Linked DNA regions of Homo sapiens: all the other regions are linked to region 4. Evidence: promoter capture Hi-C in human tissues and cell types (Jung and others, 2019). All regions are on one chromosome and are shown on one strand. Each heading gives the region's core, a stretch centred on a gene start or on the middle of the fragment in contact. The rest is flanking DNA. Distances are from core to core; before and after follow the strand shown.

The links. Contacts are between HindIII fragments. The study calls those that stand out against the background at their distance.
Region 1: a fragment that was not itself captured here is called in contact with the fragment with the promoter of FAM13C in region 4 in 2 of the 25 tissues and cell types used here (dorsolateral prefrontal cortex and hippocampus).
Region 2: a fragment that was not itself captured here is called in contact with the fragment with the promoter of FAM13C in region 4 in 2 of the 25 tissues and cell types used here (dorsolateral prefrontal cortex and hippocampus).
Region 3: a fragment that was not itself captured here is called in contact with the fragment with the promoter of FAM13C in region 4 in 3 of the 25 tissues and cell types used here (aorta, dorsolateral prefrontal cortex and mesenchymal stem cells).

The regions. Positions count from the first base shown.
Region 1 is chr10:58,956,874-58,959,855 of GRCh38, forward strand. No RefSeq gene overlaps it. Among named protein-coding and RNA genes, the nearest start is that of LINC00844, 41 kb to the right of the region's middle. The HindIII fragment of the contact is 3,591 bases long and covers 1-2,982 here.
Region 2 is chr10:59,006,687-59,009,897 of GRCh38, forward strand. No RefSeq gene overlaps it. Among named protein-coding and RNA genes, the nearest start is that of LINC00844, 8.8 kb to the left of the region's middle. The HindIII fragment of the contact is 3,534 bases long and covers 1-3,151 here.
Region 3 is chr10:59,624,764-59,627,590 of GRCh38, forward strand. No RefSeq gene overlaps it. Among named protein-coding and RNA genes, the nearest start is that of SLC16A9, 84 kb to the right of the region's middle. RefSeq lists an enhancer at 1,515-1,734. The HindIII fragment of the contact is 9,708 bases long and covers 1-2,827 here.
Region 4 is chr10:59,361,137-59,364,051 of GRCh38, forward strand. FAM13C (family with sequence similarity 13 member C) reads right to left here and starts at 1,413. Exons shown (of 14, transcript NM_198215.4): 1 at 1,263-1,413. The coding sequence starts at 1,324. It overlaps LOC124902428 (a long non-coding RNA gene), which reads left to right and starts at 763. Exons shown (of 2, transcript XR_007062148.1): 1 at 763-1,247; 2 at 1,932-2,378. The HindIII fragment of the contact is 7,624 bases long and covers 236-2,915 here.

The DNA.
Region 1 (2,982 bases), core at 174-2,673, 400 kb before region 4:
AATAAAATTGTTTCCATTCTGTATAGAAAGTGAATGATTAGCCAACTAACACACAAAGTAGTAGTAGTGAAAAAAATCTCTGGTATATCTCATGTTACTAAGGCCAGATCACAGCTTCCAAGAGGTCCAAGGAAAGATTCCAGAAAGGAGCCTAAAGGGTTCTTTGGCTATCTGAAGAATAATGAATTTCAGAGCAGTGACTATTGTCACTGGAATGCTGAGGGGAAGGGAAAGAAGCAGTAGAAATGAAGATCAATGAAGATCACAACACTTTCCCAGTGGAACTGTGATCATCAGGACAATGGAATTTCCTCTGCACATGCCCAGGAGCTTCTAGATAGACAAAATGGGAGCATGTGTATCTGCTAGATGACTTCAAAAGGCCGGCTACAGAAGGGACCAAGGAGAACCATTTTCTACATCTCGTTCCACTGAAGCAGAAAATGTTAGTGCTAGGAGACACTTATTTTAAGAAGTCTCCCTCAGTTCCCAGATAACTGAAGCAAACTCAGAACAGCTGAAGGTCACGTGGGAGCTGTGGCACAGACCTACCAGGGCAGTGAGTTGAACCCACCTCTAATTACCAGTGAGATCTAATTTCCTCTACACTGCATATTAAAGCAAGCAGGAGAAGCAAGGTGAATAAAGAAATAACTATCTACTTGAATGCCCAGGAATTTCTTAGCCTGCTGAAATGTATTCTTTTAGGAAAGTCAATTCCCTTGAGAAGAAACAGTAAAATGCTATCCTCAGATTACCCTTGGCTGAAAGATATAATGGACACTTAGCCTTTGGTGTCACCTGCTGGATACAGTCCTTTCTCCAAGATTGGTCATAGTCTCAGGTTACTTTTTTTTGGTCCATGTGCTTCATACACACACAATTCTAGACCTCATGTGCCGATCAGAATTCCCTACCCATGCCTGATCTTCCTCTTCTGGCCAAAATAAATAGATACTTCCATAGAAAATATACATCCTTTTTCCCTTTGTCCTTTAAGAACAGATTTTTTTTTTTTTTTTTTTGCCAGTAAGTCTCTAGCTATCTAATCTGCTAAACCTGTCCAAGTTACCATGCTGAGGGGAGTCTACAAGGCACACCAGAGCCAACCTTCCCTACCTAGCCATTGTACCTGCCTGTCTATCAAGCAGCATAATGGAAAGAGGAATTGGAAGATAGAACTTGAGTCTTGGCTATGTGACCTTGGGCTTTAAGCTTTAAGATCCTCATTATAAAACAGGTTTAAATCCCCACTGTTTATACCTTACAGAGTAGTGAGGTCCAGATGTGGAAGGGTATGTGAAAGTGCTTGATAAACTTAAAGCACTTTATAAATTCAATGCATTGTTAGTAATCCATAGGAGTGATGCTGTAGTGGAAATCTAAAGCCAAGGATGGAGAATTCTTAAGCATTCTTAAAAATCCATGCCCTGGTGGTTACCTGTTCAACCTGTGCATGAAATCAGCTGTGCCTCTAGGTTTTCTAAGAGAATCACCATCTTCATGGAAAAACACAATTTTTACACCATCCTTAAGGTGTCAGACATCCTCTTTCCACTACTGTTACCCAGAAGCAGAAGGTAGTTCAGGAAATAACTAACTTTTTCTCATTATTAGCCAACCATTCAGGGTTGTTCTTATAGTGTTTTTCCAGAAGATGTTTGCCTGATATCCCAAAACTTTCCTGCAGCCTCCTTAACTATCTTGCTAATTCCTTGACAGAAACTTCATCTGGTACCCCTACTTTTTATCTGCCATGTACACCATGTAACCGAAAAATGTTGTTTCCCTATTGCCTTTTGAGCCAAGAGTACCAAAATTTGGTGCCCGCAATTTCTGAATGCACTTCCTCTAAAACAAATCTTCGTAGTAAATCTCTCTTGAACCTGGCATACCCTTTTCTTTTCACACATTTACGTTATAAATTCACATCTTTGCTTTCTCACCCCTCTGACATCCTGAGAGACAGTATAATCTACACAGTGAGTTAAAGCTGCTCTGCCTTTTGCCTCCATGGGAAGTTATCCAAGAACAGGCCAGGCACTTGCCCTTTCTCACCTGTGACATTTATGGCAGGCACTCTATCAATGAAGCTTCCAGACCCAGTTTATGCTTGATCATCCTGGAATGCAAATCAGATCAAATGTTGATCATTTGGCAAATCATTTGAGCTACCAATTAGCTTGTGCAGAAGCCTTGGGAAATAGGTATTTCCAGGCAGTTGAAAAGATTTTAAAAGTAGTGCAAATTTTAGGTAAGTGGAAGTTTATGTATTTCCAGTAAATGTTAGATGGGACCTGGTTAAGTCAAAGCAGTAGCCCAGCAAGTTGCTACCTTTGACCAGTGTTCTTCTGAGATAATTTTTAATTTTTTTTTGCCCTTTCAAAAGAATGAAATGAACAGCTAAACACATTTTATAATAAGGAATCTATGGCGGAACTGGACATTCTTACATGTGACAGAGTAAGTAGAATGTAGTATTGATTTAAATTTCCCATTCCTCTTATTGAGGAAATGATAGCTAAGAGAATAGTTTTGTTTTTGTTTTTGTTTGTACTGTTTTGATGATTTTTTCCCTTCTCTTACTTTGAAAATTTTCAGATCTACAGAAAAGCTTATAAAAGCTACTATCCTTCCCCTAGATATACCAATTATTAAATGTTGCCTCACATGCTTTTTCTCTCTTTATATCTGCTTCTTTCCTCCAGAGCCATTTAAAATAAATTTCAGGCATTATAATGCTTCACCCATCAATATTTTAGGGCATATCTCCTAACTACAATATTGTTATTATATCCAAAGAATTTAACATTGATACAATTTTTAAACAGATTTTTAGATATTCACATACAGTGAAATATACCAATTATGAGTGTATGGTTCAATCAGTTTTAACCAATGAATATACTTGTATAATCCATGCCCCTATCAAGCCAAAGGGCATCTCCATCATCCCAGAAGATTCCCTCATACACCTTTCCA
Region 2 (3,211 bases), core at 135-2,634, 350 kb before region 4:
TCAACTCCCTTGGCTGCTGGTCAGTTCAATTTCTGTTAAAATTTGAGCTTGAGTTAGTTATTTGAAGGACATGGAAACAGAGCAAAAAAAAGAGGCAGAATGCAGGGCTGTGACCTAACATCTGGAGACCTTGGCCTTCTGGGTTAAAACAAACACTGGAGCTACAAAAGAATCATTCTGTCACCTGACCCCAATTCCTTGACCTTGTTACAGAAAAGGTTTATGTAATTATTGCAAGACATCTACATATCCCTACATAGATGGAAAACAATAATACATCTTATACATACATATACTATTCATTTTTCACATGTAAGTAGGTGTTGTAATCAATATGACACAAATGGTTTTAATAACATTAAATTTATTTGACAGTATGTATTTTCTTATTCAATATGTAAATATAGGCAAGAGATTTTACTACTATCATGAGACATTTATGAATTCTTAGAAAGGAATTCTCACTTTTTAAAAACAATTGGGAATTGCTAATGTAAATAATGATGGTTCCTTGTGGTCAGCAAAATGGAAAGAAACATGGAAGGGGTCGGAAATATGAAGGCACTTACACACACACACACACACGCACACAAAAGCTATCAATTTCTGTCAGAAAATTGGCTGACGCATCCTTGCTTTACCTTGGAGCTATGGGAGGTAGCTCTTGATTTAGCTGCTTAATTTAGCATGGGTGTTAAAGAACCCTGTGTCAGCAAACTCACAGGAAGAACTTGTCATTTCTATTGGTATTCTGTCTAAGCTTCAAAATGGCATGACACTCAGGTGCCCTAGTGTATCATAGTCTTTGATATTTTCCTGAGGAGAAATCATAGATGATTATGAGTCAATGTGTAAAGAGATAAATAAAGGGCTATCTTCAATTGTGCAACTTCTGCTTCTAGTTAATAATTAAAATGGAGTATCCAAAAAGCCCAGTGGGTAAGTTGTTTAGTTGGTTTTCAACAGTCCCAAGTCCATCTCTCCTTCTTCTGGTAACAGGACCTCAATTTTCCTTTAGAGAATTGTCCATACCCATACTAGGCACATGGCCCAGAGCTAGTCCCCAAATTGCTGCTTGAATTATTGGGAAGGAAGTGAACTCCTCCAGATGAGGTTTTGAAACTGGTTAAAAGTAAGTTTGGCTTGTGATCACTTTCGCCATCACTGGGGAGAGCCTGCCTAAGAATAAGTCAGCACAGGGGACAGCTGCCCAGCAAATAGAGAGAGTCCAAAGAAACCATTGAACATCTGATCTAAATATTCCTGAGTCTAACTTTTGAGTTATGTGAGTCAATCAAATTTCGTTTGTTGCTTACAGGTTTGAGTTGGGGTGTTGTTACTGGCACCATTAAAAAAGCCTAACTGGCCATGCGCGGTGGCTCACACTTTTAATCCCAGCACTTTGGGAGGCGGAGGCAGGTGGATCCTGTGGTCAGGAGTTCGAGACCAGCCTAGGCAACATGGCGAAACCCGTCTCTACTAAAAATACAAAAATTAGCCAGGTGTGGTGGCATGTGCCTATGGTCTCAGTTACTTGGGAGGCCGAGGCAGGAGAATTGCTTGAGCCTGAGAGGCAGAGGTTGCAGTGAGCTGAGATTGCGCCACTGCACTCCAGCCTGGGTGACAGAGTGAGACCGTGTCTCAAAAAACAAAAACAAACAAAAACCTAATTAATACAAAGTTGTTCTTTTGTCCCTCAGCCTTCAGTGGAATTTACCAACATCTTTGCATTGTTTCTTTCCACATTCCGCCCTCTCACAGCAGAACTGCCCCAGCCTTACTTTCTTATGGACCCTCCCAGTGTGTAGCAGGACATTTTCTGGACATTTTCTCTTGCAAACCAGCTGACTTTTAGGCACAAGGCAGTCTCAGCTGCCGAGCATGTCCAAGAAAAGGTGGGGATCAGAAGAGACCCTGTGATTCTCCTGGGGAACTTGGCTCCCAGGCAGCACTGAAAAGTCATCTCAGACCAGAGTGTTCTAAAATGCAAACAAGCTTTCTTTTCAACTGGCAATAAACAGTGCTTGATGCACTGCAGTATACAGGGGTTGCCAATTTTTTGATAGAGCAGCCCAGTAGCCCAGCTGAGGATTCTGAGAAGAGGGAGGATTGTAATAGTGTTGTTTTGTGGAGATGGGGTCTTTTGATGATGACCCTGTGATTTCGCTTCAATTCCCTTTTTTCTGTGCTTTTTGTCATTCTTGTTTTCCCGGCTGTGTTCCTTTCCATTATCACTCTTTTCTTTGTCTGAAATTGGACCCATAGAAATTAGCCTGTAATCAGGGGACATGAGAATCCCTAAATTGCTCTCATTTTGATTTTCTACTTTGTTAATATTTCAGTATATGAAACACCAATGAGACATTTGAGATCACTGGCCCTTCAACTTAGTCATGCTACTATCTAACCTGCTGCATGGAAAATTTGAGTATGCATCATAGCATCTAAAATCGACATTTCTAAATCTGTTTGTGGTACATTATGTAGAAAATTACTTCAGTCTCACTAGTACTTGAGAAACCTTCATCGTACATCATTCCAACATCCCAGAAAAAGAAGCACGTGGGAAGATTTGTATATAAGGGAAATAGGGGAACAGCAATACAGTATTGCAACCCATTGATAAAGATGAAACTGACTTCCTTAGCTTAATTGGACTTGACTCATCCTTGATTTTTGTGTTTCTTTGTGCTGCTTAATATATAACCAAATATATATAACTGAATGAGGTAGCTGTTCCTCAGTGAACTTTGCATAAGAGTTAAAAAAAAAGCCTGAAATTAAAGTCTTTATAACAAAATGAAATCCCCCCCGAAGTATAGGCAGAAACTTTCAGTAAGTTTTTTAAAATAACACTTCAAGTATATTGAGCACATCCTATGTGCCAAGCATTTTATTATACATGTGTTACCTCATTTGGTCTCAGTACCTGAGACAGGAACAATGAGTCCCCTCAGTTTTCCTTTTTTTTTTTTCCTTTCTTTCTTCTTCTTCTTTTTCGTTTTATTTTATTTATTTTTAGTGATGGAAGCTTGCTTTGTTGCCCAGGCTGGAGTGCAGTGGCTATTCACAGGCATGATCATAGCATACTGCAGCCTCGAACTTCTGGCTTCAAGCTCCTCCCACTTCAGCCTCCTGAATAGTTGGGACGATAGTCACATGCCGTCTCACCCAGCTTTACTCATTTTATAAGTGAAAAAACTGAGGGCCA
Region 3 (2,827 bases), core at 249-2,748, 260 kb after region 4:
TTATTCATCACTCTGAGTACAAGCACCTCTTGGCAAAAATCTGATGACATATTTTAAGTAGGAAATTGCAAGATAAAGTAGTCAATTGTTAACGGTGGTAAGTTAGTCAACTGTTGGTGGGAGTGTAAATTAGTTCAACCACTGTGGAAAGCAGTATGGTGATTCCTCAAAGAGCTAAAAGCAGAACTGCCACTCGACCCAGCAATCCCATTACCGGGTATATACCCAGAGGAATATAAAGCATTCTGCCATAAAGACACATGCACGCGAATGTTCGCCGCAGCACTATTCACAATAACAAAGACATGGAATCAACCTAAATGTTCATCAGTGACAGACAAGAAAACGTGGTTCATATACACTGTGGAATATTATGCAGCCATGAAAAATGAGATCATGTCTTTTGTGGGAACAGGATAGAGCTGGAGGCTATCATCCTTAGCAAGCAGGAATAGAAAACCAAATACCGTGTGTTCTCACATATGGGTGGGAGGTAAATAAGAAGAACTCATGAACACAAAGAAGGAAACAACAGACACTGGGGTGTTATTGAGTGGGGAGGGAGGGAGAGGAGCAGAAAAGGGAACTATTGGGTACTGAGCTTAGTACCAGGGTGATGTATTAATATGTACAACAAACCACCGTGACACACGTGTTTATCTACGTAACAAACTTTCGCAGGTACCCCATACCTAAAATAAAAATTAAAAAAAAAAAAAGAATCTGCCAGTGACCACAAGCAAATCAAACAGCCTCTCCATACCAGTAAGCAAATTGCAAACTCACACACCTTTGGCGCAGGAACAAATGATAAGGGAATTAAGGAGTACAGGTGTAGAATAACAGGGAAGTGCATAAAGTTACTCACAGTAAAAATTACTGGGACACGGATCTTGGCAAAACCTCTGTACAATCTGTCCGTTTTCTAACACTATATTCAACCAATGCTGGCCAAAGCAACATGTCTGTTGATAAAATTCAGCTGCAGATGGGGTTGTGGATCCAATGAAGTGAGCACGGTTTCCAGGAGGTATTATCAATGGCCAGGAGCTAATTCCTAACTTGGAGCAGCTGAAAACAATCACTCCCCATTTTACAGTAACAGCACACAGAGATGCCAAGTTCTCTGGCTGAGCCGAGTCATCTGTGGAAAGTAGACACAATTCAATCTAAATAATAGAGAACAGCGGCAGCCTGGATTGATGTTTCTGCATGACTCTCTGCTTAGTTCAAATTGGAGCCATTACCTCGTTGGATTTCTCAGCAGGCGGTTTAGCCTATAGGAGACATTCCCTATCCAGTAACAAATCTCATTTCTTCTCAGGCTGAAGGAGATAACAAAAGCCAGATGGCCCTTCAAGACTGTTCATGATGCTCAATGAGCCCAAGATGGATGCGGCCCATTTCTAGACTTTTTTCAGCTGAACCACAAGGTGGTGCCAAAGTACAGAAAATGCTGCTTCAGCCTGCAGGTGTCACCAACTGTGAGGAAGGCAAAAGGAAAGAAAAGACCATTATCTCACTTCGCTGAATAAAAAAGAAAATGCAAGTCTAGGAGGGCCTAACAAGGCCTCAGCACACAGCAAATCCCCACTTATCCTTAGTAAATTCGGGTGCCTGAGTTTCAGGAGGCTGCAGGTAAATTGAGTCTAAAAATTCAAAGGAGCTTAAAAGAGCAATTAAGCCTTTGGTTTGGTAATGAAGGCAGCACTAAGCCATAGGCCAGATAATTAGTGTAATGGAGCTCAGTGCTGAAAGAGCTACTGTGTCTCATTGTAAATTCTGCACCTGTTAAGGGCTGCGTGGGTTTACAGGTGGGCTAATCAAAGAAGAAAACCACAGACAGATCCTGCAGAAAATTCCAGGCAACTGGAAGGTCACCTCCCCCAAAATCCAGGGAGCACAGAGGGCTGCTTTTCTCACAATCCTTCCTACTAGACCTGTGTTGTGCAATACGGTAACCACAGGTGGCAGGCTCTAAACTGAAAATACACACTGGATTTCAGCAACAACAAAAAGAGTGAAATCGCTCATTAATCAGTTGGATATTAGTTACATGTTGAGATAACATTTTGGACCTACTGAGTAAGACAAATGCCAAATTTAATTTCCCTTGTTTCTTTTTACTTTTATTCTTTGTCTCCTAAGTATGTTTCATTACATAGATATTGCTCTCATTATATTTCCATGGGATATTGCTTCTCAAAGAGCATATCATTGGTAAAATATGGAAATACTTCCACACCAATGGGATGCTTACACTGCCCTGGGCCTCAGCCCCTTACTATGTCCCACTGCCTCGGCTGCTCAATCCCTCAGAGCCGTGCAGCGCCTGCCACCCAGCCAGCTTGACGGAGGCCCCTCATTCCCTCACATCCATCCCACCACTCCCAGGATGGGCCTGGACCCAAAAGAGAATGCCCTATTCCCATCTGGCATGTCTTAGTCACACTGCCCTGGCTGTGGGTAAGAAACAGCCTTTGCAGTGACTCTAACAATTGTTAAATATTTGGTATTTGTTGTTGTTGCTTTTTTTGAGACAGGGTCTAACTCACTCTGTCACCCAGGCTGGAGCGAGTGCAGTGGTGCTATTTCCACCCCCCAGGCTCAAGCAATCCTCCCACCTCAGCCTCCTGAGTATCTGGGACTACAGGCATGAGCCACCACGCCCAGCTAATTTTTGTAATTTTTGTAGAGACGAGGTTTCACCATGTTGCCCAGGCTGATCTCAAACTCCTGGGCTCTAGCAATCCTCCCACGTCAGCCTCCCTGTGCTGTGGGATTACAGGCATGAGCCACCGCACCTGGCCAGTTGTCAACTATTTCA
Region 4 (2,915 bases), core at 163-2,662:
GGTTACCAAGCAATCTTATAAACAGAATGTGGGTCCAAATGAGTATTTTACATTGCTTCTTCTAAAGTCAATCCTGTTTTTTTTTTTAAGTGACTCCACTTAAGTCTGCTCAAAACTGGACACTAAAGGAGCAGCACAGCAAAAGAGAGAAACAAAAGAATGTGGAAAACAAGAGGGCCTAGGAAGCACTGTAAACCTTATCCCTCCCTCACCAAGTCATTGTGATAGTGGCAGGACTTGGAAGCCAAAAGCAAAACATTTATTTGCTTTTTAGGGAATTTTAGCAAACAGCTCCCCAGTTAGTTAAGCCTTCTACATCAAACTCATAACATTTTTTAAATGTAGTTGAGGATACAACTTTACACATGCCTTTTTCCTGAAAAGATGTTTAGAGTGGCTTCTACAAAGGTCCCAGAAGTAAACATCATGAATTAGCCTAGAGAAAGAATGCTAGATGAAGTACATATTCATATATATATATGTATATATAAATTACATACAGTATTAGCAAAATACACTACCTGTTAATTTTTAACAAATATAGTATAATATTAGGAAAACATTAAGGAAGGGATGTCAAAAATTAAAACTATAGCATATAAATATCTTTAAAAAAATACTGTGCTTGCTGGTACGCTCCTTCATTCACACTCCTTCATTCCATGTTTGAAGGGTGTTAGTTGCCCTAATCAACAGCTTTAACCATAGGACTAGGTGACTCATTCGTCCCATAGTCACATCTCTGTAGTCAGAAGACAAACATGACAAAGGGCATGCACAAAAAGTTTACTCTGATATGCCTTAAAAATCTGTAGACAAGAGAGGGCCAAGATAAGTTTAGCCTGTTTACCACATGCTGGAATTCAGCTCATTTCACATCTATCTTCTATTGCTGTAAATGTATATAGTGTGCACTCCATGAAAACTGACACCAATGTTGGCAAAATACAACAAAGCTTCCTAACACATCAAATGGATTTTTAAAAATCTGAGCTCCAAGAACACATATCTTGGAGCACTGAGCTCCTGCAAGCAATCAGCTGGTTTTAATTTCTCTCCCGCAGCTGCTAAAATGCTGGTTTCAACCTGTAAAGATTTCTGGGCCCCACCAGTCAGCACGTCTCACGGTCTTCACAGCCCCAGATTCCGGGAGACAATGCATCTAAAACGAACAGCGGCTGGGAACGGTGGAGGATACCTTCACGATAGTTGCTTCCAGAGAAAGGCATGCAAGTCTAATTTTAATGGTAAGAATCACTTACTCTGTTACAGTGGTGCTGCTGAAGGAATTATCCTGAAGGCTGAAACAGAAACAAGAAAACATCAGCCAAGTCTGGCCGGGGAGCCGTCTCCCTGATTGCTCTCCGGGAGTTAGAGCACATACACAAACATGGCATTGCAAGGCAAGTCTCCGGGCTCGCCCGGCACGCTCGCTCTACCTTGGGCTGCTGTCTGCACATGCTCGTAACGACACCCCCAGCAGGGGCCCAGCGGCACGGGCGAACCACAAAGCCCGGCAGCCCGCGAGGCTGCGGGGACAGAGCTGGGCGGGGCGCGGCGGCGGGGCTGGGACCCCGGGATCCAGCGAGGAGCACCTGGAGAGTTACCACACGACCCCGACCTCGCCAGCCCAGGCGCCGCGTTTAATCTTGGGCTCTTTGTGCCAGCCACCCCCCGAGGCTGGCAATGAGAATGCCCCAGTGTTTCTGCCGAAGTGCTGAAATACCCGGGAGACTTGCTTTCTTCCACATGTCTCCTACCAATTTTACAGAGCTCACCCCAACCCCCCACACTCCCACCCCACCCCCAGGGATGGAGGCTCGCAGAGATTCATCCATCGTTCAGAAAAAGTCAGGAGAGAACAAGAAGGGGGAGGGGGATATTGCTGCTGTTTGGTGTTTTATTTTGTGTGTGTGTTTTTTGTTGCCTAGGAAAAAGAATAGGCTCTAAAGCAGGGCTGGCTGCATCACACCTGATCTGTCTAGAGCGCTCTTATTTCAGTCCCAGAGAGGAAGCGCCCAGCCCCGGACTACAGAGCTGTGAATGAACCCACGCAGGGCGAGTGGAGAATTTATTCCAGGGGTTAGCTGGTGATTAGGACACCGTGCAAGGGGTGGGGCTTGCTATGCCTAGAGCAGCCCGCTTGAGCTCAGCTCCCTAGCTAGCACCTTTACAAAGGATGGAGAGACGGAATCCGCAAACGCTATCCCTTTGAATAAAGGCAGCCTTGTTAGGGAAAGGAAAGACTGTCAGTCCCCCCACTGGCTTCTTTCCCTTGGGGATATTTGTTCTGCCCTCTTTGTATTGTTCATTTCTCCTGCCATGTTGACCTGGATATGGGATGTAGCATCTATTAAAGATTCTTATTTGAATTTGAATTATTTTATTTGAATTTTGAAATAAGATTCCCATCCCCCTTTTTAATCTTTCTACTCCCAGAAGCAGCTAGGATAGTGGTTTTTAGTCCAAACCTATGTAAGTTAATGAGTTAACATAACAACAAAAAACTCATAATTTTTCTAATTGGGCAATTAAAAACTTTACCAAAACTTGGAAATAATGGGGAAGAGCATGACCTTTCAATGTCAAACTGAGACATCGGTTAACAAGTCCACCCAGGGGCCAGTTAATTCTCCAGTTGTGTTTGGCTTTGCTCTTCACTATTGATTAGATTCCAGCCACAGTGAAGTTCTGTGGTCACTTGCACATTTTATTCAGCCTGTTCAGAGAAAAAGATAATCGCAGCGTTTATGATTTTATTGCAATATAGGAAGATAACCAATTTTGCATCTAACCAAATAATCATTTTGCATCTAACCAAACTTTCTTTCTAAATACCTGTAAATCCACAGATCCTCAAAATGCTTTTGGAACCAGCTTCATCATCTTACAGTTTTCCCCATTAATAAGTGAAT